Regions from separate parts of the Homo sapiens genome. Here regions 1, 2, 4 and 5 are each linked to region 3. Evidence: promoter capture Hi-C in 16 types of primary human blood cells and fetal thymus (Javierre and others, 2016). All regions are on one chromosome and are shown on one strand. The core of a region is centred on a gene start or on the middle of the fragment in contact, and the rest is flanking DNA. Distances in the headings are between cores, read along the strand shown.

Region 1 (4,651 bases), core at 1,401-3,900, 2.2 Mb before region 3:
TCTAACTTTCCTAAATGTTAAAGCACCTAAAAGGAAAAAAAACAGACTTACAAAAATATAACGGGGTCAGCCCCCCAAACTTTGCACATTATGATATATGATATGTCAAAATATAACAAACATTTTCTAAACATTACCACATTACCATCTCTCTCCACCCATTTATACCTAATCGGCAGTAGACTCAACACTGCCCTTTCACCTCTTAAAACTTTACTCTGTAGAACCACTAGATAATAAATATATTTCACACCACTGACCCCACCTTCCCAAACATGCACTCAGTTGCAGTTCCAAAGAGACTCTCCAAAAAAATAGTCATTTGAAAAAAGTACCTGTTTACACTCAGTCTATCTGCATATTATCTTTCAAGATTATTACTTTTTTTAACCATAAAAAAGATTGCATATTGGCAATATAATGAGAAAACCACATTGGCCATTTCTGGGTGCTGGTGAAGGGTGAGTGGGGCGTTGTTGAAGCACAGAAGCAAGAGGGCTCAGAGAGGGGCAATTGTGGTCCTCAGCCTTGAGATGTGAGGGTTGAGCTGGGGTTACCTACATTCTCAATCCTTGGCCTCTGAAATGTCCGTCTCTTTAGTCACTCCCTTCTCGTCTCTCTACCTGTCCCCATTTCCACTACCCATTCCCATACCACACAGCCCTCTTGAAGCAGAGGCAAAATGGCTTTTTGGCATGTGTCCGCCTGGGTCAGTTTGAAGACAGGTATGGCGTTTGGAGGGGTATGATATGGGACATACACCAGAGCAAGCTTATTTGTGACTGTTTCCACTCTGGGAAAAATTGTCCGTTACTTCCGTGACTTTAAAAATTTAAGCAGTTACTAGGCTGATAGGTTAAGAAACAAATCTTTTGTTTTTGGGGTTTTGCATTAATATTAAGCATGAATATATATCATATATTACATTACTTTCTTTCTGCTCTGGGGCAGACTGCGCTCTCCTTCCAAACAGGAAAACTGCACAGCCCATGGACAGATTTTTGAAAGCTATTATTTCCCCAATCCCCCACCCCCTGCCCTTACCCCCTCCTTTCCTCCCAGCCCTCAGTTGCTGTATTAGAAAAGTCCCTCCTGACCCCCCGCCCACAGCCCATCTGAGGTTAAATAGTGCCACATTGTAAAATTCATGCATCACTGCATTTTGCTATTGCACATATTGCAGAGAGAGTTGTGTAAGTGTGCCCCCTCCCTCCGTTCCCCTTCTCTTCCTTAGTCTCTCAGATTCCTGTGCTATTCCCACGTTCCCCTCTCCCAGCCTCCCCCAACCTTTCAGACCCTTCACTGGTTGTGGACGTCCTCTCTACGGACAATCTTGTAGATGATCCAGTAGAACATGTTGAAAATGAGGAAGGCCATGGGGAAGCCAATGCGGGATATTTTGTCGATCTTCTTGGCCCTCTGGATGAAGAGTTTTCGCATCTCCTCTGGGGACTTAGATGGTGCAGGAGGGGGGTTGGTGGTGTTACTGTTGTTGGCGCCCTTGACTGAGATGCCATCCTTGGCCTGTAGACAGGCTGGGCCCATCCCATAGGCAGAGAAGTTAAAGCGGCCTTCTCCAGCTTCATCCTCCTGGAATAGATTCAACATGGGGCTCTACTTAAAATAAGACAGGGGCTAGGCACCCTCCCTGCAAGGCACTCCCTTGGGGGCCAGGCCATGCCTATCTGGTTCTCCCTGCTTTCCAGACTGCATCACTCTAGGTTTCTGGAGGCTTTTTGGCTGGCTGGGGAGTTCTGCCTTATAGAGGGGCGCCACTTGCCTGCTGAAACAGATGCAAAACAGGGGATAGGAATGTGGTTTAGAGTCTGGAGACCTGTGTTCAAGTCCCAGCTCTATCAATTGCTGGTTGTATGACCATAGGCAAGTAATTTCCTTCTGTGAGTCTCGGGGATTTTTATTTCATTTTTTCTTCTACCTGGGGGATAAGATTCTCCCCACTACTCCACAAGTTTCTTTTGACCATCAGAGGTTATAATTGAGAACATATTCAAGGTTGTACTGGGTTTTAGTTAGAAATTCAGAGGACAATTTGGACAGATCCCCTGCTTTGCCTCTGTTGCTTCCTTGCCCTCTTCCCCATCCCATTCCCCAGTTAATAACTCCCAGGAGTGGGTGGTAAGGGGGATGGCTATGGGCCAGGATGGAGCAGGAGCTCTGGGCCTCACTTCCGTTCTACAAGCCAGGGAAGCCACAGCTTCTTCCTGCCTCTACGTTCCCACATCCCTGGCAGTTGTAACTTCAGACAGACCTCTGGATTTTTACTAAGTTTTCATTCAAGACCCTTCATCATTTGGCTCCAACTTACCTTTCCAGGCTTTCCTTCTCCCCCACCAGATACTTTGCAGCCCTCCAGGTTTGTACATTTTCTCTTGTGCCTTCTCACGTCCCTTCCTTATGCTCACTACCAAAATGCCTGCTGCCCTGATCCTTCTAGTTCATCTCTTTCCCAGGTCATGGTGGTCTTGCCCTGGTCTGAATCATGGAGGCACTATTGTCTGCTCTCCTCATGTCCAGCTTTGTTATCGTTGCATGTGAGCTCTGAGGAGGAATTGAGAGTCTAATGTTTTGGTCTCAGCTGTTGATTCAATGTTGGCATTGGGAAGTTTTATCAGCTCACATTGCCCAACTAGATAATGCTTTCAGGAAAAGAACACCGTCTTCTGCTTGTTCCTGTGCAGGACCGGGCCAACAGAGAAAAACTCAGTATAGGATTCACTGGTGCCTCTCCATCTCTCCTGTAGGGTAGGCCACCTTCTGATTTGTTTGTTTTGTTTTATCTTGTTTGTAGAGATGGGGGTCTCGCTATGTTGCCCAGTCTGGTCTTGAACTCCTGGCCTCGAGATCCTCCTGCCTCGGCTTCACAAAGTTCTGGGATTACAGGTGTGAGCCACTGTGTCCAGCCCACCATTGCAACAGCCTCCAATCTGCCCCCACCACCCAACCCATCTGAGTCGTTATAACACAGATCTTGGTCATCTTTTGCTTAGAACCTTTTAATAGGCTGCCACTGACTTCAGGTTAATTAAAATCCTGAACATGATAAACAAGGCCTTAGAACCTGGACCCTGCCTGCTTTTGCAGTCTCATCTTGTGCCATTTCTATCTGGTGTTCTATGCTTTAGTCACTGAAATATTTCCTTATATTTGAAAATGTCATGGTTCTTTTCTTGAACTCTGGGCCTTTGTGCAAGTTGTTCTCCCTGCCTAGAACACACTCTGAACCCCATCTCTTGTCTCCAACTCCTCTTTCACCTAATTCTTCCTTAGAAGCCTTCTCTGAGCTCCCAAGTATAGGCTAGCCGCTCCTGCTGTGTGCTCCATAAGCTCTCTGTATATATCTCCGTCTTTTTTTAAAGCTCTTATCACATTGTATGGTAATTTCTTGATTAGCGTCTGTCTCTTACTAGATTATAAGCTCCGTGCAAAGTCTGTCATGTTCACTGCACTCTCAACACTGAACATATGAACATAGTCCCTGGTTCATAAGCTCAAAACTTGGTATATGTTTGTTGAACAAATGTTTACTTGTATATCTTCACCAGCTTTAGTGTCCTTTTTTGTTGTTGTTGTTTGTTTAAATGGAGTTGTATTTTTAGCACCAGAAGGGTTTGAGACATATGGTAAATGCTGAAGAAATCCTTGGAAAATGAATGAATCTTGTCCAACATCTTCATTGCAAAAGTGAGGAGGAAGAGGATGTGCCACCTACAGTGCCTGGCAAACAGGTGCTCAGTAAGTACTTGTCTATGAATAGGGCAACAGTAGAAGATTCAATGCCAGGGCCAAGGAGAGGAGTTGGGGAGAGCCAGCCAAATTGCTGGACCTAGTACTTAGAAGGGGGTCTAAGTCTGACTCTATTGCATTTCAATGAAAATCTCCCCTTGCTGGAGCTGGGGTGTTGTTCTATTTTTATTTTTATTTTTTATTTTAAACTGGGACCTAGTTACGTAGGGGGAAGCACCAAATTAACTTTTTATGCTGCTTTGGGTGAATTATTCTTTGCCTTTCTCATCTGTTAAACATGGGAGTAGGAGGAGTAGAGGTTTGGATTGAAGGCCCCATCTAGCTAGAGGATTATCAATTTCATATTGTGTCTGGGAGAAAAATTCCCTAGGAATGACTGGTAAAAGGCTTGCTATTCTTATTGGAACCAGCAGGTGGCAGGAAATGCATGCCCAACTGCATCTGGAGCTGCTTAGAGCTGGAGCAGGGGAAATCTGGTAGTGTACTCTGGAGCTCAGGGAAGTTGCTAGTAGTATGCCTGCTGAGTCTGGTGCTCACAGATATGGTTTCCTGATAATTTGCCTAAGGAGGCTGGCCAGAGAATTCGAGAACCAGATGCTTTGTGCACAACAAATGAGGCAACATGGGAAGATGGTGGGAGTTGGGAAAGCTGTCCAAGATCACAGGCTCTGAGAAATTCAGGCATGTAGCTAGTTCCTCTCCACTCACCATCTGGGACTTAAAATCCCTTCTGCAAACTTCCTGTTAAAGAGAGTTTCTGCAGAAGAAGCTTGTACACCTCTAGGGTACAAATCACTTCCAGAGCGGCTTACTCTAAGGAAACTATTCTTTATGGTGAGCTCACTTCTGCATCATTGTAATTTCTGACATTTGGGCCAACTTAAGA
Region 2 (5,046 bases), core at 54-2,553, 2.8 Mb before region 3:
GTTGGTGAGAATTTCAATCTGGTAATAAAGGGAGAGCAAGGAAAGCCAGGAGGTGTCAGAGAAGGGAGTAGAATCCTCCAGGCTAGGACTACTGTTAGGCAGAAAAACCTGTACTCAGGGCACAAGCAAAGCAGGAGCAGAGGGAGGACTAAAGTTCATTGCAAAACTATTAAACACTGTCACAGTTTGGGGCCTCTCAAGGTCTCAAGGGGGAATGATGATAAAGTTTAAGGGATCACCTAGTCCCACCTGGCTAGGGGGCAGGTAGTGGTAAGAAAAGGGGCCAGAATTTGAGGGTCCTTCTTCCCCTCTGCCTCACAGTGTCCCCTGAGGAGGCTATCTTTCTAGCTCCAGGCTCTGACCTTCTGGGCTCGTCAGACCCCAAGGGGCAGCTGGTCTCACTGCAAGAAACCTGAGAATTGTCCCCTGGGCCCTGACCCAGCTCCAAGGCCCCTTGGGGGAAGGACAGGAAGGGAGGAGAGGGCCACAGAACGCAGTAGATCTCCTCCCTCTTTGGCCCCTCCCAGCTACCCCAAGGGCAGCCCACACTCACCAGCTCTGGGGCCTGCAAGAGCCCTAAGACCAGCGCCTCAAACTTTAAAGCGTCATCACCTGGGCATATTGTTAAAAGGCAGCTTCTGTCTTGGCAAGACTGGGCCTGAGCCTGAGATTCTGCATTTCTGACAGGTCCCCAGGGATGCTGATACTGCGAGTCTGTGGAACACTCTTCGAGCAGCCCTGAGATTATCAGCCTTTAACCCCCGGGGGGAGGAAGCCGAAGGCCCAGAGAGGTCAAGTCACTTGTCCATGGCCACACAGCGAACAGCCCCAGACCGAAAGCAGAGGGCACCTGCCACAGACACACGACATCTCCCCACCCGAGGCAGCGGGAATCAGCTGCCTTTCCCTGGCCCGGGTGCCGTGTTTGTAAACTCGGCTGCTTGGTGCGGCTCGGGCCGGGGTAAAGGGCGCCTCCCAGCAGAGCCTCCCTCGTCTCTGAGCTGGCCTCTCCAGGTTCTCCGTCCGGTATCCCGGGCCGACCAGAGAGAGCCCGGGGCGCCGAGTCCTCTGCGGCGGAGCGATTCCGCACTCCCCTCTCCTCTGAAAGCAAACTTCTCCGCCGGCGCCCTTTACCTTTTTCGGGGGTTTGCAGCTGCTCAGCCTGCTGTGTCTGCAGCCCATCCTCCTCCGGGGGCTCCCGGACGCCGCTTCCCAACTCCGGGGCCCCCAGAGGAGCCTGCGATCCGGGCCCCGCTGCCCGCTCCGCGCCCGCCGGCTGGGGCTGCCGGCGAGACCCTGAAACTGAACCTGGAAGCGCTGTCTTGAGCCTGAGCTGGGGCGGCCGCCCGCCGTAAATACCCGAAGAGCGGGGCCTCAGTGTAGCCCGCAGGGCCAGCGGCGCCGCCACCAGAGGCAGGTGACCAGAATCCTTCTAAATAATAGGAAGCTCTGGTCAGGGCAGAAGAAAAGAAAACCTCAAGGAGCAACAGATGCTTTTCCGAACCCTCAGCTAAGAAAGGGCCGGGGGAAAAAATAATTAAAGCAATTATTTGATAAACTAACAACTATCATTCATTGAGGGCTGTTTTTGTCCCAGTTGTTTTATACATTTTATTTCTATTTCTTGCCATATCAGTGCAACAAAGGTATTACTTCCTCCATTTTACAGGTGAGGAAAATGGTGTTCAGAGATGCAACATGATTTGCCTAAGGTCACATGGCTAGTAAGTTACCACAGCCCAGATAGAATCCAGTTCCTTTTTTTTTTTTTTTTTTGCCGCTATCATAGTTCACTGCAGCCTCAAACTCCTGGGCTCAAGCGAGCCTCCCAGCTCAGCCTCCTGAGTAGCTGGGACTACAGAGGCTCACCACCATACCCAACCAAATTCTTTTCTTTTTTCCAGTCTGATTTTGAACGACCGCCCTCAAGCGATCCTCCCACCCTGGCCTCCCAAAGCGTTGGGATTACAGGCATGAGCCACTGCACAGAATACAGTTCTAACTCCAGAACCTAAACTTTGACTCAATGGCCTACAAATAAATCATAATACTAAGTTTATTGTATTTATTTATTTTTGAGACAGAGTCTCGCTCTATTGCCCAGGCTAGAGTGCAGTGGCACGATCTTGGCTCACTGCAACCTCTGCCTCCCAGGTTCAAGTGATTCTCCTGCCTCAGCCTCCCCAGTAGCTGGGATTACAGGCATGCACCACGACACCCAACTAATTTTTGTATTTTTAGTAGAGACAGAGTTTCACCATTTTGACCAGGCTGATCTCAAACTCCCAACCTCAGGTAATCCGCCCGCTTCGGCCTCCCAAAGTCCTGGGATCCCACACCTGGCCAATAATACTAAGTTTAATTTTAATGCCTCCTCACTTCTGGGCTGATAGTTTTTTCCACCTCACAAGCATCTGTAATATTTGACTCTATCCATCTTGGATAGATGTTATTCATCACAACAACCTCTTGAGGCAGGCCAGGTATGGTGACTATGGGACATAAAATGTCAGTGTCTAGGAAAAGGAGCTTTTGTTTATCTTCTCTTTGTTATTAGCTGAGGTTTCTGAAATGGCAATGCAGGAAAAAGATAACCAATTTTGAAAATCAGTGTGTATGCCTATTTGCGTGTATATTGGAATATTAAAGTCAGGCCCAAAACTCTTGGAAAGGTGTGCTGTGAAAACGGCTTAGAGTCATGAATGGGGAAAGAATATGAGACCTCAAAAAAATTGCTCCCTCCATAGGGTACAAAACCAATTGCAAAAGTGTGTAAGAAAGGAAACTAAGGAAACGTGTTATTAGGTTCTCAAAAGCAAGTATAATAGAGAATGGTGGCTCACAAAGTGTGATTCCCAAATCAGCAGTGTCAGCACTACCAGCCGCCTTTGTTGGAAATGCAAATTCTCGGGCCCCACCCCTGGCCTAAACTCTGGGGATGGGGCTTAGGAATCTATGGCTTCATAAGCACTCCACTCATGTCTGGCCTGGGCTAAAGTTTGAGAACCCCTGCCATAGGACGTGCTCCACAGGTACTGAAGAAACAGGATATACTTAAATTATACTAAAATTAACAATGTTTATTGGAACAGTGCTCATGATTAAAAACAAAGAACCCAAAACAACCTAAACAGCCAAGAAAAGAAGGTTGGTTAAATACATTATGCTATATCCATAAAAATAGAATGCCACATAACCAGCAAAAATACTGATGAAGATGAATTTTTTGTGTTACAAAACATAACAAACTCATTTTCATTAAAAAAAAAAATTGAGTGACTACCACTGTATTGGTGAGATTTTGAAATTTTAAAACAGTTTTTTTTTTTTTGAGACAGGATCTTGCAATATCACCCAGGCTGGAGGGCGGTGGAGTGATCATGGCTCACTGCAGCCTCAGTCTTCCAGGCTTAAGTGATCCTCCCACCTGAGCCTCCCGAGTAGCTGAGACCACAAGTGCCTGCCACCAAGCCTAGCTAATTTAAAAAAAAAAAATTTTGTAGGCCAGGCACAGTGGCTCATGCCTGTAATCCCAGCACCTTGGGAGGCTGAGGTGGATGGATCACCTGAGGTCAGGAGTTCGAGACCAGCCTGACCAATATGGTGAAACCCTGTCTTTACTAAAAATACAAAAATTAGCCGGATGTGGTGATGTGTGCCTGTAGTTTCAGCTACTCAGGAGGCTGAGACAGGAGAATTGCTTGAATCCGGGAGGCAGAGGTTGCAATGAGCCTAGATTGTGCCATTGAACTCCAGCCTGGGCAACAGAGCGAGACTCCCTCTCAAAGAAAAAAAAAATTTTTTTTTGTAGGCCAGACACAGTGGCTTATGCCTGTAATCCCAGCACCTTGGGAGGCTGAGGCGGGTGGATCACCTGAGGTCAGGAGTTCAAGACCAGGCTGGCCAACTTGGTGAAATGCCGTCTCTACTAAAAATTAGCCGAGCATGGTGGTGCATGCCTGTGATTCCAGCTACTAGGGAGGCTGAGGCAGGAGAATCACTTGAACTCGGGAGGCAGAGGTTGCAGTAAGCAGAGATCGTGCCACTGCACTCCAGCCTGGGCAACAGAGTGAGATTCCATCTCAAAAAAACAAACAAACAAAATTTATAGAGAGTCTCACTATATTGCCAAGGCTGGTCTCGAACTCCTAGCCTCAAGCAATTCTCCGACCTCAGCCTCCCAAAATGCTGGGATTACAGGCATGAGCCATTGAGCCTGGCTTCATTTTCTTATATTAAATAATGAGGGCGGGCACACTGGCTTACGCCTGTAATCCCAGCACTTTGGGAGGCTGAGGTGGGAGAATTGCTTGAGGCTAGCAGTTCGAGACCAGCCTGGCTAACATGGTGAAACCCTTCTCTACTAAAAATACAGAAAATTTGCCTGGGCGTGGTGTTGGGTGCCTGTAGTCCCAGCTACTTGGGAGGCTGAGGCAGGAAAATGGCGTGAACCTGGGAGGCAGAGCTTGCAGTGAGCCAAGATTGCGCCACCGCACTCCAGCCTGGGTGACAGAGCGTCTCAAAAAAAAAAAAAAAAAAAAAAAAAAAAAATGAGCATGCACTTATTACTATTGTAATAAACAATATTATTTTAATATGAAAAAGTTTTCTTTTAATATGTTTTTAAACCCATACATGAAACTATCATTAGTTTTTCATCATCAAGACATGGGCAGTTCTGTGAAATCCTAAAGAAATGGACAATGACTGTGATTAATTAGGTAGAAAAGCAACATAAAGGGCAAAGATGGCTAAACTGTGAGCATGAGATCCAAACCCGTAAAGTGATCCTGAACCAGTAATTTCTCCTTTCTGAGAGTTTCTCATCTATATGTTGAAGAGTTGAACTCTCCAAAATTGACCCCAAATTTTAATGTCAACAATTGAAATTAATAACTTGGGGCCAGGCATGGTGGCTCACACTTGTAATCCCAACATTTTGAGAGGCCTAGACAGGGGGAGCACTTGAGGCAAGGAGTTTGAGACCAGCCTGGACAACATAATGAGACCTTGTAAAAAAGAAAAATTTTTTTTAATTAGCTGGGC
Region 3 (5,060 bases), core at 331-2,830:
AAAACACATAGAGAAAAAATCCAGATACAACTACTCACTGACATACAAACCAACTTAGAAGTAGCCATTCATTCACTCGCAAACATTTTTTGAGTACCTACTACGTACCAAGTAGTACCACAGTACCTGTGGAGATAGAGAACTAATGTAAGCCATTCACTCCAAGGGCCTATCTAATAGGAAAGACGAGACAGTTTTTGCACAAAGTTCAATTAATGTTTTGTGTATATGAATAAATGTTTCCTATCTTTTCCTTATGCTCTCTCCAGGTTGCAACGCATCATTATCATCATCATAAATATATACAGTATACTATATGTAGAATATATAATATACATATTACATAAATTCATATAATTCCATGAAAGACTGGAAGGACATACTCCAAAATATATTTTTAAAGACAGGGTCTCGCTATGTTGGCCAGGTTGGTCTTGAACCCTAGGCCTGGCCTCAAGCAATCTTCCCCTGCCTCAGCCTCCCAAAGTGCTAAAATTACAGGCGTGAGCCACCATGCCCTGCCAAAACAGTCCCTTTACTAAAATATTAAACACTGGTTATCTCTATTCTTTCATTTGTGCCAGATATTTGAGCTAAGCCAGAAGAGAATTTTTTATGGTGATGGTTGTTTATATTATCATTACTATCGTTATTAGAATGACTGTACCATCTCTTTCCTCAACTCATTCATAATCTAGGAGAAAGGTTAAAAAAAAAAAAGGAATAAACACCAAGTACGTGGAACTGCACTATTTAGTGTTTTTGTAAGTCTTCCAGGCATTGTGTAGTAAGCGTGTAGAAATAATTGTAGTTTCTCCTCCAGTTATTTTCTCAGTTGGAGGAGAAAGATTCCAATAACTGTAAATAAATACGGCTGAGCCATATTTTTAAGAAATAAAAACGCATACGCTTACACACACACATATATATTACGTATATATACACTCCACCCGCCCCATTTACCAAAATGAAGAGCAGTACAGCTTAGTAGCTAAGAGCACGGGCTCTGGAGTTTACTTTCTTCCTGTCCTGCAGCGATTGTGGGGAAGTCAGGTCACCTGTCTGCCTCTCCGTTTCCTCATCTGTCAAATGGAGTTCTGGGTCCCTATAAAGATTCAGTGACGCGATATGTGAGGGGCTTGGAACAGTGACCGGCACGTAACCGCCCACAGGTTAACAGCTGCTATCACTTGGTGGGGTGATGGTTTGTATCCTATCGTTATTAATACGGCTGTCTCTAGATGAGCAAACATGCGCTCTCACTTCTTCCCACATTCAAGAATGGGGTCCCAAACGAGAGATTCGACGTAAACGTCCGCTCCCAACTAAGTTCTCAGGCGCTGACAACGACAAGAATTCCTCACACAAACGTAGCGCTTCAATCACTAAACCGCTTTCACAGCCCTCGACCCTGCCGCGAGATGTCCGCCGCCCACCGTCAGGTCACCGCCTCCCTAACGACTTCGGCTGCCCGGGCCCTGCCCCTGAACCTCGCACCCCTCCTGCCTCGTTCAGGAAGCTCCGCACCTATCCGGCCGCCACCCTCAGCACAGCCACGGCAGCCGACTCGGCGTTCCTACTGCCCCGGAAGTGCTCCTTCAGCGCAGAGGCGTGCCGGTGTGTCCGAGAAAACTTCCGAGTTAAGCCGCCGCTGAGGCCGGAAGGAGCTAGACGGCGGTCGGGTAGGTGACGGCTTGGTTGGGGTCGCTGCGAGGGGACTACTAGGAGCGCCGAGGCGTGAGTCGTAGCCTGTGGCTTGGGGTCGGGAGTGCAGGAGGCGAAAATGTTTGCCATTCTTTTGAAAGTCTGGCCTGGGTGTGGGAGTTCGGTCATCGAACACTTACTGAGAGCCAGATACCTGCCAGGCACTGCCCTGGGCTCCAGGGACACATCAGTCAACGAACGGAAGGGCCCTGCTCTCAAGCAGTGCGAAAAGCAGATTATAAACAAGTCAACAAACGGGATTATCTAAGGTGGTAGTAAGTGCTGTAAAGAAATTTAGACTGGATAATGTGATGGAACGAAGTGGGAGAGTAATAAGCCGTATGAAAATCTGGAATAGAGCATTCCAGGCAGAGAGAATAGCGCGTGCAAAGGCCATATAGTGGGAACAAACTTAGCAAAGTCAAGGAAAAGACAAAGGCCACTGGCTAGAGCAAAAGGAGCAAGGTGAGAATGGAGAGAGATGAGGCCAGGGACTTGAGCCCAAATCTTGTAAGGCTTATGAGCAAGGATAAAGAGTTTGATTTTTGTTTGGAATCCAGTGGAAAACCATTGAAGGTTTCTAAGCAGATGAATGACATGATCTGATTTATGACTCTAAGATTACTCCTGGGACCTCATCAGAAAGATGCAACTCTTCTGTTGCCCTCGAGCAGTGAAAATGCATGAAATCCAGACTGACAGAGCTAGTAAAATATTAAAATCAATCTTATTGTACAGATAAGAAAAACTGAATCCCAGAGAGGTGAAGGGACTTAGCCTTTAAGAACTCATGTTTTCCAACTCCATTTAATGCCCTCGGAATTATCATCTTAATTCCCAGATAAGAGTAATTGTCACTTCTAAAACTCTTCAGATATTTTCCTTTGCTTTTGACAGTGGTTCTCTAAATTTAGGTTCATCAATATCACCTGGAAGCTTGTTAAAATTCCAAAAAACAACAACAAAAAAACCCCTGCTTAAATATAAAATGGATCATTTCCTCTGATTTTCTGTTGTAATGGAAAATGCATAGAATTTGGGGCTAAAGTATGGAATCTTGGGAAGCCACTTATTTTTTAAATGCTGCTGATAATTATAGCAGCAGTTCTCAAACTTTTTGATCTTAGAATTTCTTTATACTTTTAAAATGTATTGAGAACTTCAAAGGGTTTTTGTTTATAATAGCTATCAATATTTACTATTTTAGAAAACAACTTTCAACAAAGGTTATTCATTTTAAAATAAACTCATTATATGTTAACATAGATAGCATTTCTGTAAAGGATATTTTCCAAAATGAAAAATTATTGAGAATGGCATTGTTTTACATTGTTACAAATCTCTTTAATGTCTGGCTGAATAAAAGACAGCTAGATTTTCGTAACTTCTACCTTCATTCTCTTACAATATCAATCATCATGTAACTTTTAGAAAATTGTGCCATATTGTGTGAGAATGTGAGTGAAAAAGGGATATGTCCTAATATTATGTAAATTGTTTTGAAACAGTGTCAGGGACACCCAGGAGTTCCTGCACCACACTTTTGAGAATTACACTGAATTACGGTGATTGTCATGCCAGTAAAAGAAATATGAGTTTGATTTGTAAATCAATAAACCTATATGCACATTAAAAATGCAGATGCCCAGGCATCCCCTAGAGATCCCAATTCAATAAGTCTGTGGGGTCAAGAAATCTGCATCTTTAACAAGCACCACAAATTAATTTGATATAAATGGTCTGAAAATTACAGAGTGAGAAAACCAGTCAAATGATTCTCTAGAGTGTTCTGCCTACTAAAACTCAAGATAGGTGTCTTTCTTATCTTCACCTCTCTCCATCAATAGTTTCCAGAGCCTGAAGCTCTGGAAAGTTAATAAGTTTGTAGCAGACACCTTTCACACTACCAAGTCGATGAGTGTCTGAACTCAAAATTTTGAGCACTTGCCACAGGCAGTGGCCCTGTGCTAAGGACAGAAGGTTTTTAGACTCTATCATTCATAAGCTTACAGTCTTTTGAACGGATAACTAACTGCTAAGAGGAAAACTGATAAGTCTTATAATGGCGTACTCTTAATGTGCTAGGGGACTGACAGAGCAAAAAAAAAAAAAACTCATCTGACAAGAGGGTGGGCATGAGAGGGTTTCCTGAATAAGATGAAATTAGAGTTGAATATTATAGAGAGGGTACAGTTTCCCCCAGAAAGATATTGACGGGAAGGGGCAGAAAGATTTTTAAGCAAAAGGAACAACTAGTAAGGTGAAAAGTTATTTAGAGAGAATAAAGTAAAACAAGCGTAGTTTAGGCTTTCAGCCATGGCAGGAAAGCTGGGTAGATTATAGGATTTAAGCAAAGAAACGAATGATAATGATAATCAGCCTCTAGGTGAGGAAACTAAAACCACTGGAGCACATCATAGCTAATTTGTGATAGAGGTAAAACTAAAGACCAGACTTAATGTTTAAATCCATTCATTCCTCCTGCAAGCAATTATCGTACATAGAGGCACCTCTGGGCTTCTCATGACTTTCTGTTCTGCTGCCTGAATCTATTCTTGGAGAATTACAATGCCAAATTGGAATTTTAAGCTTATCTCATGGGCAGTGAGAAATCACCAGTAGATTGTAAAATTACCCTGAATTGCTCAGATTTGTGTTTAGGACCAATTCTGAGTGTCACAGTGTTTGGATACATCATAGAGGTAAAAGGAGTTAAGGAGATCCATTCTGAAATTAAGGGGATAGTGTGGTATACCCAGGTGAGATAAAAGGATATGAGTTAGGACAGAGACAACAGGACTTAATTGAAAAATGTGTAGGAGGTGGAATAATAACAATAGCATATATTTATAATTTACCCACATTAGTTCATCTTATCCTCAAAACTACCCTATGATGCAGTTACTGTTAATATTATTTTATTTAATAAATGTGAAAACTAAGGCCTTGCAAGCCTATGGCTTCACCCAGGGGTAGGATCAGGCACCTTAACTCTAGAGCCCATTCTCCTAACCACTGAGCCATGATTGTCTTACAATTTTGATACTGCAAAACTGGAAGAATTGTCTGGCTATTATCTAAGCTGTTCATAAGCTGAACAAGTAGATCTGAGGGTAAGAGGAGTTCTGTTTTAACTAGACTGAGTTTCAAATAGAGATGTTTCAGACTATAGAGGGGGAAAAATGGCCTGGGAAGATCATAAATCTAAGCCTGTTTCATTGATGTTTTTGTCATTTGCATCCAGTAGCTATTCAGCAAATATACCTATGGCAAAAAGGATATAAGTTATGGGTATAACTGAAATAATCCTGGGTTTAAAGCAAAGCTCTGATAAATACAGACGATGTTTCTCCAGG
Region 4 (5,199 bases), core at 2,375-4,874, 2.3 Mb before region 3:
GCCTGGGCAACAAGAGCGAAATTCTGCCTCAGAAAAAAAAAAAAAATTAGCCAGGCGTGGTGGCGGGCACCTATAATCCCAGCTACTCGGGAGGCTGAGGCAGGAGAATCGCTTGAACCCGGGGCAGAGTGGAGCAGGTTGCAGTGAGCAGAGATCATGCCACTTCACTCCACTCTAGCCTGGGTGAAAGAGCAAACTCCATCTCCAAAAAAAAAAAAAAAGAAAAAGAAAAAAAAAAGCATCAACAGCAAAAGCTGATACAGACATACAAGATATACATTCCCATACCACAGCTGGGGAAACCCAGGCCCGAGAAAGAAGGGCCCACAGTCACATGACAAGTCAGCAGCTAGGTTCTTTCCACTGTTTCAGTTTCTTTCAGATTAAGATCCCAGTTTACAGGGCTAGAGGCCAGCCACTGACTTGCTGCGGGACTACGGGCAAGTCACTTAACCTCCTGGACACTGGCATCGACATCCCCATTCCAAAGATGGAAAGTACAGCTCAGAGGACTGCTAATGAGATCACGTCCATGTGGAAGCCATTTGAAAACTTAATGTCATTATTATTTAGGGTTTTAAAAAAGAAAATTTTAGAAGATTGTGTGATAGTTCATGTGGAAGAAAAAGAAAAGAAAAAATCTTAGAAGGCTGACTGAGCACTGGCATTGCCAAAACTCTGATCACAACTCAGTTATTACCTCACTGAGTCCCAGGACCAGATCCCAGTCCTCTCTGGGCCTCAGTTTCCCCAGCTGTAAAATGACAAGGCTGGATGAGACTGATTGTTCAAAAGAGGTGCTTTAAGAATATCTGCATGTGGCCAGGTGCGGTGGCTCATGCCTGTAACCCTAGCACTTTGGGAGACCAAAGCAGGCGGATTACTTGAGGTCAAGAGTTCAAGACCAGCCTGGCCAACATGGTGAAATCCATATCTATGAAAAGTACAAAAATTCACCGGAAATCGCCTGAACCCAGGAGGCAGAGGCTGCAATGAGCTGAGATCATGCCACTGCACTCCAGCCTGGGCAACAAACAGAGTGAGACTTCATCTCAAAAAAAAAAAAAAAAAAATCTGCATGTGAGTGATTCAAAATTAATTTAAATTTTTTTTTTTGAAGTAAAGAAACAGAAAAAGACAAAATTTTAAAAATTTTTACCTTTTTTTAAATCTTTCCTTTTTTTCTTTCTTTTTTTTTTTTTTTTTTTGGAGACAGGGTCTTGCTCTGTTGCCCCCACTGCAGTGCAGTGGCACGATCTAGGCTCACTGTGGCCTTAACCTCCCAGGCTCAAGCGATCTTCCCACCTCAGCCCCCTAAATTAGCTGTGAGTACAGGCATGTAACACCATGCCTGGCTAATTTTTTTGGTATTTTTTGTAGAGATGGCATTTTACCATGTTGCCCAGGCTGGTCTCGGGAACTCCTGAGCTCAGGCAATCTGCCCGCCTCAGCCTTCCGAAATGCTGGGATCACAGGTGTGAGCCACCGTGCCCAGCCCCATTTAAAAAACCTTAATAGAGGCTGCGTAGGGTGGCTCGCGCCTGTAATCCCAGCACTTTGGGAGGCCGAGGCGGGCAGATCACCTGAGGTCAGGGGTTCGAGACCAGCCTGACCAACATGGAGAAACCCCGTCTGTACTGAAAATACAAAATGAGCCAGGCGTGGTGGTGCATGCCTGTAATCCCAGCTACTTGGAAGGCTGAGGCAAGAGAATTGCTTGAACCTGGGAGGCGGAGGTTGCAACAAGCCGAGATTGCACCATTGCACTCCAGGCTGAGCAAGAAGAGCGAAACTCTGTCTCAAAAAAAAAAAAAAAAAAAAAAATTCAATAGAAAATGACACTCAGATGTGTCATGCAGTACACACTGGAGATGACCAACATATGAACTAGTACTGCCATGGCTCCAGAGCTACTCCTGGCAGTACTAGTTAATTTGGCTAAATCCCAGCTCTGCCATTTACTGACCATGTGATCCCAGATAAGTTATTTAATGTTTCTGAACTTCAGCTGTCTCCTGTTTAACATGGAGCTAGTAAAAAAAAAACTATCTGAAATGGCCGTGGTGAGGATTAAATGATGTGATTCACATAAGCCACTAAGAAAATAACAAGAGTAGTTGGCACGTGCTAAGTACTCAATATATTTTAGTTTTACTGTTATGATCAGCTTAACCCTAAGTCTCTCCTGCAACATCTGCATGCATCTGAACATGGCATAAGTGCACCCAACTCAGGGCCACTCACTCACCTCCAAGCTTATTGAGGACCCGAGAGACAGCTTCAGCACAGCCTCCACAGGTCATGTCCACAGAGAACTCGTGCTTCTGAAACAAACACAGGGGGACCATGACCCGAGCCCTGTAGAGTGACCCCCACACAGTGCCAGCAGACAGGCCCACTCAGGGTCAAGACAGAAGACAGAGAGACTGGGCAGGACCTGGTTGGCATCAGACTCATCAGAAGCCTGTTTCTGAGCCCGTCTCTTCAACTATAGAGTAGCTAAGAGTTTCTACCTCACAAGTTGTATTCAATGGAATCATCCCTATAAATCCTTTAGCAGTGTCTGGCACATAGTAAATAGAATCACCTGGAGATCTAGTTTAAAATGCTTTTTCCCAGTCCTACCTTCAAAACACTGATTCTTGAGCTATGAGCTTTGTCTCAGGGCCACCAGTAACTCTGACAGGGATGGGCCCCCATACTCTGAGCAATGCTGATCTGGTGGGCCCACTTATGAACCACAAAATTATTTTCTGCACTAGAGTCACCTACAGCTTGCAAAAACTACAGGTTCTGGTCAGCAGGTCTGGGCTGGGGAATCTGTTATGTCTACTCATTACCCCAGGTGATTCTGCTTTCATCCAAGGGCCGCATTCTCAGAGGCAGCATCTGGGTCCAGGGAAAGAAAGGATTGCCTGGGTTCCCCAGTGGGTTGGAGGCCAGGCAGGAAGGGATCCCCGGCTCCTAGTCTTCATGTAAGCTCTACATTCTACAGTCTCTAGGATATCTAACAGATCAAGGGTCTGAAGGTAAGCTCCCAGAAGACAGAGGTTTTGTTCAGTTCACTACTGGATTCCTAATACTTGGAACAGTGCCTGGACAGAGTAGGTGCTTAAAACTTATTTTTGAGTCAATGGATAATTGACATGGCTGGTTTGAACTTCTGGATCTTTTGCTTTGCTTTCACACAAGGATTACTTATACCAATACTTTATTTTAAAATCTCTGGAAATGAGACCATCTGAAATCAGATAAATATGGCTTCAGATACCAGCTCTGGCACTACTAGTTGCATGATCATCAATATGTTACTTCTCTGTGCCTTAGTTTCCACATCTGAAAATTGAGGGTAAGAGTCCCTCTCTAGATTTGTGAATGGGATGAACACAGGATTTTAAGTACGGTTAGCCAGCATCCAAGATGGCCTCAATGATCTCTGCCTCTGGTATTTATGCCCTTGAGTAATCCCATTCCACATGTCTCGGGTTGGTCTGTGTGTCTTATAGAATATGGCTTGAAGTGAGGTTATGTGGCTTCTGAAGCTATCACAATGTCATAAAGGACACTGTGACTTCTGTCTTGCTCCATTTCTGGGGTCACTTGCACTAGAGGAAGTCAGCTACTAAATTACAAAGAAATTCCAGCAACCACAAGGAGAGGTCCACAAAGTGAGAGATTGAACCCTCGAGCTAACAAGCATGTGAGTGAGACATGTTGGAAGTGGATTCTCCAGCTCCAGTCAAGCCTTCAGATGAATGCAGCTCCAGCCAACATCTCACTGCAGCTTTATGAGAGCCTCTGAGCTGGAGCCACTAGGCCAAGCTGTTCCCAAATTCCTGACTCTCAGAAACTGTGTGAGTTACTATAAATATATTTGTTGTTTTATACTACAAAGTTTTGGGATAATTACTAAGGAGCAATAGATAACTAACACATTAAGGAAATTAGAGCCTAGTACTAGGTTCCGTTGGGTAAAAGGTTAGCTATTGGATTATTAATTTCTTCCATTTGTCTCTCCTGTTTCCCTTCAAAAATCAATGGCTACATTTTTCATGGAGCACTTCAAAATATTTGAAGTCTATTACCTCAGTTGGAATCCTGGGTGTAGTGATATATCTTGCTAGAAAACCACAGGCAAAATCTCTGCTCCAGAAGGGCTCCAGTTCCCTAATCTATACCAAAAGGGTATTAGCTAACTCAATTTTTTTCAACTTTAGTGTGCATAGGAAGAATCTGGGGACCTTGTGGAAAGTGCAGCTCCCAGACACCTGCCTCAACTGACTCTGTGGATGTGGAGCGGGCCCTGCCACTCCCCATTTTTAACCTACTGGGGAGAGAACGGGAGGCAAAACTACAAACCTGAAAATAAAGTGGCTAAGTGGCTTCTCAAACTCTTTCCAAGTCTCTAAACACCGCTGAGTCTGGATTGTCACTGTGCTCTACAGAGGAAACGAAGACCAAGAATTAAGCAGCTCGATTTTCCAGTGCAGACTGTTTGACCTTTGTGACTAGTAAACCACTCCTTTTATTAAGGCCAAATCTGCAAAATCTGTCTTAAAGAAAATGGTCAGTCTTTCCTTTCTTCTAAACATCTCTGATTTTTTCATCTTGTTTCCTGACTATTCACAGACAGCAACAATAACAGATTCTGGAAAGAAGGATTTGTAGTAAGTATTACAAAATCTTGTCTTTAAAATGTGGTCCTCAGCCCAACAATATGAGCATCACCTGAGAGCCTGTCAGAAATGCAGAATCTCAGGTCCCTTCCCAGAAGTCCGGAATCAGAATCCTCATTTTAACAAGACACCCAAGTCATTCCTCCCCACATTACAGTCTGAGATGATGCTCTCCTCTATTAAAAAGTTTTTTTAGGCTGGGCAATGTGGCTCATGCCTATAATCTCAACACTTTGGGAGGCTGAGGCAGGTAGATCACCTGAGGTCACAAGTTTGAGACCAGTCTGGCCAACATGGCAAAACCTGTTTCTCTACTAAAAATAGAAAAAAAATTAGCCAGGCATGGTGGCAGGTGCCTGTAATCCCAGCTACTTAGGAGGCTGAGGCAGGAAAATCACTTAAACCCAGGAGTTTGAGACTAGCCTGGGCAATACAGTGAGATCATGGCTCCATTTAATTTAAAAGAAAAAAATTGTTTTGGAAAAAAAAATGATGATGCTCTGGAACATGGATTGGCACACTA
Region 5 (5,012 bases), core at 363-2,862, 2.2 Mb before region 3:
CTTTCAAAGTAGGTTATTGAGTTTTGAACACTAAATTCATCTAGTGTCTCTCTAGCACTGTCCAGTAGCAATAGAAAATGAGCCACATATGTAATTATAAATTTTCTAGTAGTCATGGTTAAAAAAAAAAAGGTAAAAAGAAACTGGATAATTTTAATAACATTTAACTTAAGGCATTGTCATTTCAACATGTAAGAATATTGTGAGAGATATTTTACACTTTTTCATAATCTTTGAAATCCAAATGTGCCTCCCATAATTTTACACTTATGAGAGGCACATCTCAATTCAGACTAGCTATATTTATAATTCAAGTGCTCAGTAGTCACATGCATCTAGTGGCTACTGTATTGGACTGTGTACATGTAATGTTTAAAGATAATGGTCTAAGTAGTTATCTGAGAATGTGTTTCACTTGCAGGTTATGGAAACGTGGTGGAGTTGCGCATTAACAGTGGTGGGAAATTACCCAATTTTGGTTTTGTTGTGTTTGATGATTCTGAGCCTGTTCAGAAAGTCCTTAGCAACAGGGTAAGCAGCTTTTTGTCTTGATTTTTTTTTTTTTTTTTTAAAAAGGGTTTTGGTTCTTTAGAATATATCTTTACAGCTGGGTCTTTATGTAAAGTGCAGTTTATTCCAACATGTTCAGGTAATTTATTCATTATTTTCAACCATTATTAAAAGACTTGCCTGGGGGTTTAGGAAAACAAACCTTATGTTTAAGTAACTTAGTTTTTGAAAACATGAATTATGAGAATGAGAAAATGAATAGTTATCAGTGCACTGAGATTTACGTAACTACCTTTCCTTGGTGGTGGCTTTTGGTATACAGGAGATGAAATACAAACCTACTTCTAACTATTAACTAAGATAAGAGCCAGTTTGCCCAGGACAGTTTTGGTATACTGCTGTTTTTAGAGAATAACTATTAAGAGCTTCTTCTTTAAGTTAATAAATTGGATTTGGAAGATAAATTATATAGTCAACCTACTTGGAACCATCCTTACTAACAGTACTCTTACTCTGTACGTTCTAATAATAGAAGAATTTGTAGAATGGAAATCTTACTGTGGGATCCCCAAAGAAAGCTTCCCTTCCTCTAGCAAAAAACTACTTTTTGTAGTAGTAGAGAAGAACAAGTGTATAAATAATATTAATTTACTAAGCTATACTTTTTTATTGAGGTGAAATTTACATAACAAAATTAACCATTTAAAAATGTACAACTTAATTGCATTTAGAACACATTATTGTGCAACCATTACCTTTAATTCCAAAAGTTTTTTACTAAAAGCCATAAGCTCTTTACTCACTAAGCAGTCATTCCTTGTACCTGTCTCCCAACCCCTGGCAGCCACTAATCTGCTTTCTGTCCCTATGAATTAAAATTGTGTACTTTAAACCATATAATAAAAATACTGCAGATCAGTGATATTCTCCAGAATGTTAATGGGCATACTGCAAAGTTTTTTATTTTTTTATTTTTTTTTTTTTGAGACAGTGTCTCTCTCTGCCACCCAGGCTGGAGTGCAATGGTGTGATCTTGGCTCACTGCAACCTCCACATCCTGGGTTCAAGCAGTTCTCCTGCCTCAACTTCCTGAGTAGCTGGGATTACAGGCACCCGCCACCATGCCCAGCTGATTTTTTTGTATTTTTAGTAGACATGGGGCTTCCCCATGTTAACCAGGCTGATCTCGAACTCCTGACCTCAGGTGATCCGCTGACCTTGGCCTCCCAAAGTGCTGGGATTATAGGTGCGAGCCAATGCACCTGGCCTTACTGCATAGTTTAATGTTGTGGTTATAACATGTCAACCTGAGTATGCAAATATACATTATCTTTCAAATTATTTGACCATTTATTTTTGTGAAGCATCTCCTGCAAAATACTGTTTGAGAAATGAGAGAACAGTGGTTTATCTCACCAAAGCCACTGAAGAACCCAGAAATGTCCAGTAGGCTTTGTAGATAAATCCATCATTCAGCATGTATTAGGCCTAGTGGCCACCCTTCATTTCATGGTATTGATAGAAGTCTACTATGCTCCCTTCACTAATTTTTTGTGTGAGCAGAAATAGCTTATGTAAGACTGATTGCCGTGGTGTATGACATACTGTAGTGTAGCTTACCGTTTCAAAGCTTATTTTTCCCTGGAGGCCTTGGTTTGTATTCTCCTTTCATCACTCATTAGTGTTGTGACCCATGGGACAAGTTACTTAACCTCCCCGGCCCTTAGTTTGCTAGTCCTTAAAGTAGGTATCTACCATCAGAGGGTTGTTGTAAAGGTTAAGTGAGCTAATAAATTTGAATAGAGCTGGGCACAGTGGCTCACGCCTGTAATCCCAGCACTTTGGGAGGCCGAGGCGGGCGGATCACGAGGTCAGGAGATTGAGACCATCCTGGCTAACACGGTGAAACCCCGTCTCTACTAAAAATACAAAAAATTAGCTGGGTGTGGTGGCGGACGCCTGTAGTCCCAGCTACTCGGGAGACTGAGGCAGGAGAATGGCGTGAATCTGGGAGGCGGAGCTTGCAGTGAGCCGAGATCGCGCCACTGCACTCCAGCCTGGGCAGCAGAGCGAGACTCCATCTCAAAAAATAAATAAATAAATAAATTTGAATAGAACACTTCCGCGACACATAGTAAGTACTCTTAGATACTCATTTTAAGAAATTAGAAAATTACATTGCTGGTGAAGAGCATAAATTGAATATATTGAAATGTTTCGTAGCCCCTTAACTACTTTGGCTCTGTTAGGAGGAAACGAAGGCCAAGACTATCCAAAATTCTCAGGAGGTGTTAAAGAGCAAATTAAAGTTTATGTCAAATTAATGAAGTTTTTATTTTAAATGTATATGTACTTTGCATAAATATGTACAGTACCATCTTTTCACACTGGTGATGATGAGGTTTTATTCTAAGCCTCCAAATCTATGGAGAAGGTGGCAATTTTTTTTATTTTTTATTTTTTATTGGGACGGAGTCTCACTCTGTCGCCCATGCTGGAGTGCAGTGGCACGACCTTGGCTCACCACAACTTCCGCCACCCGGGTTCAAGTTGCACTCCAGTCTGGGTGACGAGTGAAACTCTGTCTCATTAAAAAAACAAACAAAAAACTGAACTGTGAGAACTTAGCTGATTTATAATCTGCTGGTTCTTTTTTTTTTCTGAGTCGGAGTCTCGCTCTTTTTCCCAGACTGGAGTACAATGGCGTGATCTTGGCTCACTGCAACCTCCGCCTCCTGGGTTCAAGCAATTCTCCTGCCTCAGCCTCCTTGAATAGCTGGAACTACAGGCGTGTGTCACCATGTCTGGCTAATTTTTGTGTTTTTTTAGTAGAGACGGGGTTTCACCATGTTGGTCAGGCTGGTCTTGAACTCCTGACCTCGTAATCCACCCGTCTCGGCCTCCCAAAGTGCTGGGATTACAGGCATGAGTCACCGTGCCCAGCCTCTGCTGGTTCATTATTACAGCTTTCTTTATCTTTGATAGTGATAGCCAGCTCATCAGTACTCTTAAGTCTGGTCACCTTGATTCTTACAGCCCATCATGTTCAGAGGTGAGGTCCGTCTGAATGTCGAAGAGAAGAAGACTCGAGCTGCCAGGGAAGGCGACCGACGAGATAATCGCCTTCGGGGACCTGGAGGCCCTCGAGGTGGGCTGGGTGGTGGAATGAGAGGCCCTCCCCGTGGAGGCATGGTGCAGAAACCAGGATTTGGAGTGGGAAGGGGGCTTGCGCCACGGCAGTGAATCTTCATGGATCTTCATGCAGCCATACAAACCCTGGTTCCAACAGAATGGTGAATTTTCGACAGCCTTTGGTATCTTGGAGTATGACCCCAGTCTGTTATAAACTGCTTAAGTTTGTATAATTTTACTTTTTTTGTGTGTTAATGGTGTGTGCTCCCTCTCCCTCTCTTCCCTTTCCTGACCTTTAGTCTTTCACTTCCAATTTTGTGGAATGATATTTTAGGAATAACGGACTTTTAAAGAAGCAAAAAAAAAGACTGAATTTCCTTGCTTACTTTGCATATACAGACTGGATTTTTTTTTTTTTTTTACAGCCATTTCCCCAAAGGAATGTCTTGCATATTACTGACATTTGGTATGTTTCATTCATTGGAATATTTCTTATTTTCTACGTGTTTGAAAAGCCTGTAAGAAATACAGGATTTGATAATATTTTGAAGGCAGGAAAAACCCAAATTGTTTCTTCTTTGAGAGTCATGACTACCTTCTGGTGTGGAGAAATTGCCATTGGAAAATTTGACAATTTTGATTCTCACTGGTATGTTTAAAAACTGAATAAAAGGAATAGAATTTTTTTTTGATAAAGGATCACAAAACAATTCTAAAACCTAACTGTTTTTACCATTGAAATTTAAATTGTGATAATAGGTTTTAAATGTCTAGAATGCAACTGATAGGCTTTTCTTGAACTGTTAGTTTTTTTGAAGTAGTTTTTTCATGTTTAATTTGTATTTGTAAAAAAACAAAAAGCAAAAAAATTCCCAAAACCCAGATAACAACCAGAGCAAAACTGTTGTGCCTTCTATTTATCTTTGATTTCAGTCTTGGCAATTGTTTAAAAAAAAAATCTAGATTTGTTTTATTAGGTTCAGAGTATGTGGGGAATTATAGAATCCCTCTTTCATCACTTTGTGTATGTCTTTTGTTAACATATTTGTTATGCCTTATTCTAAAATTGAGTCTCAAACTGGAATGCCTTTGAAGACAGATGCTTCTATAGAGGTTCTTTGACCTAAATAGTTCAGCATTTGTATTTTTATTCTGGTATCTAATCAGATTCCTAATCATAGCCCGTAAGAAGGAATGTTACTTTAATATTGGACTTTGCTCATGTGCTCGTGTCCGCATTTTTTTTTTTCTTAAAATCATAGCCATATGGTAAATTTTCTATTTTGTTATGGTTCTCTTTTATTGATGGGCATGCAGTGGGTGTTACTTGGAAATGGCCAATTTTTATTAAAATATTTCTGGAAGAAAAT

The links. The method cuts DNA at HindIII sites, captures the fragments that hold promoters and counts their contacts. A CHiCAGO score of 5 or more calls a contact.
Region 1: a fragment that was not itself captured here is called in contact with the fragment with the promoter of FAM114A2 in region 3 in 1 of 17 cell types (M2 macrophages); the score reaches 6.3 in M2 macrophages.
Region 2: a contact is called between the fragment with the promoter of CCDC69 here and the fragment with the promoter of FAM114A2 in region 3, in 1 of 17 cell types (erythroblasts). The highest score is 5.0, in erythroblasts.
Region 4: the fragment with the promoter of ATOX1-AS1 here is called in contact with the fragment with the promoter of FAM114A2 in region 3 in 1 of 17 cell types (M0 macrophages); the score reaches 5.0 in M0 macrophages.
Region 5: a fragment that was not itself captured here is called in contact with the fragment with the promoter of FAM114A2 in region 3 in 1 of 17 cell types (M2 macrophages); the score reaches 6.2 in M2 macrophages.

Annotation. Positions count from the first base shown.
Region 1 is chr5:151,821,374-151,826,024 of GRCh38, forward strand. GLRA1 (glycine receptor alpha 1) reads right to left here. Exons shown (of 9, transcript NM_000171.4): 9 at 1,140-1,590. The coding sequence ends at 1,300. Among named protein-coding and RNA genes, the nearest start is that of G3BP1, 52 kb to the left of the region's middle. The HindIII fragment of the contact is 3,763 bases long and covers 770-4,532 here.
Region 2 is chr5:151,222,789-151,227,834 of GRCh38, forward strand. It overlaps CCDC69 (coiled-coil domain containing 69), which reads right to left and starts at 1,304. Exons shown (of 9, transcript NM_015621.3): 1 at 1,135-1,304. The coding sequence starts at 1,182. LOC105378230 (a long non-coding RNA gene) reads left to right here. Exons shown (of 4, transcript NR_160730.1): 4 at 688-1,562. RefSeq lists enhancers at 727-836, 857-1,056 and silencers at 1,177-1,256, 2,740-3,034. The HindIII fragment of the contact is 18,522 bases long and covers 1-5,046 here.
Region 3 is chr5:154,037,330-154,042,389 of GRCh38, forward strand. It overlaps FAM114A2 (family with sequence similarity 114 member A2), which reads right to left and starts at 1,581. Exons shown (of 14, transcript NM_018691.4): 1 at 1,528-1,581. MFAP3 (microfibril associated protein 3) reads left to right here and starts at 1,638. Exons shown (of 3, transcript NM_005927.5): 1 at 1,638-1,682. The HindIII fragment of the contact is 2,878 bases long and covers 1-2,638 here.
Region 4 is chr5:151,749,456-151,754,654 of GRCh38, forward strand. It overlaps ATOX1-AS1 (ATOX1 antisense RNA 1), which reads left to right and starts at 3,625. Exons shown (of 4, transcript XR_007059008.1): 1 at 3,625-3,854; 2 at 4,218-4,667. It overlaps ATOX1 (antioxidant 1 copper chaperone), which reads right to left. Exons shown (of 4, transcript NM_004045.4): 2 at 2,249-2,324. RefSeq lists an enhancer at 215-464. The HindIII fragment of the contact is 3,507 bases long and covers 2,254-5,199 here.
Region 5 is chr5:151,800,339-151,805,350 of GRCh38, forward strand. It overlaps G3BP1 (G3BP stress granule assembly factor 1), which reads left to right. Exons shown (of 12, transcript NM_005754.3): 10 at 1-8; 11 at 422-531; 12 at 3,547-5,012. The coding sequence ends at 3,753. Among named protein-coding and RNA genes, the nearest start is that of G3BP1, 31 kb to the left of the region's middle. The HindIII fragment of the contact is 1,052 bases long and covers 1,087-2,138 here.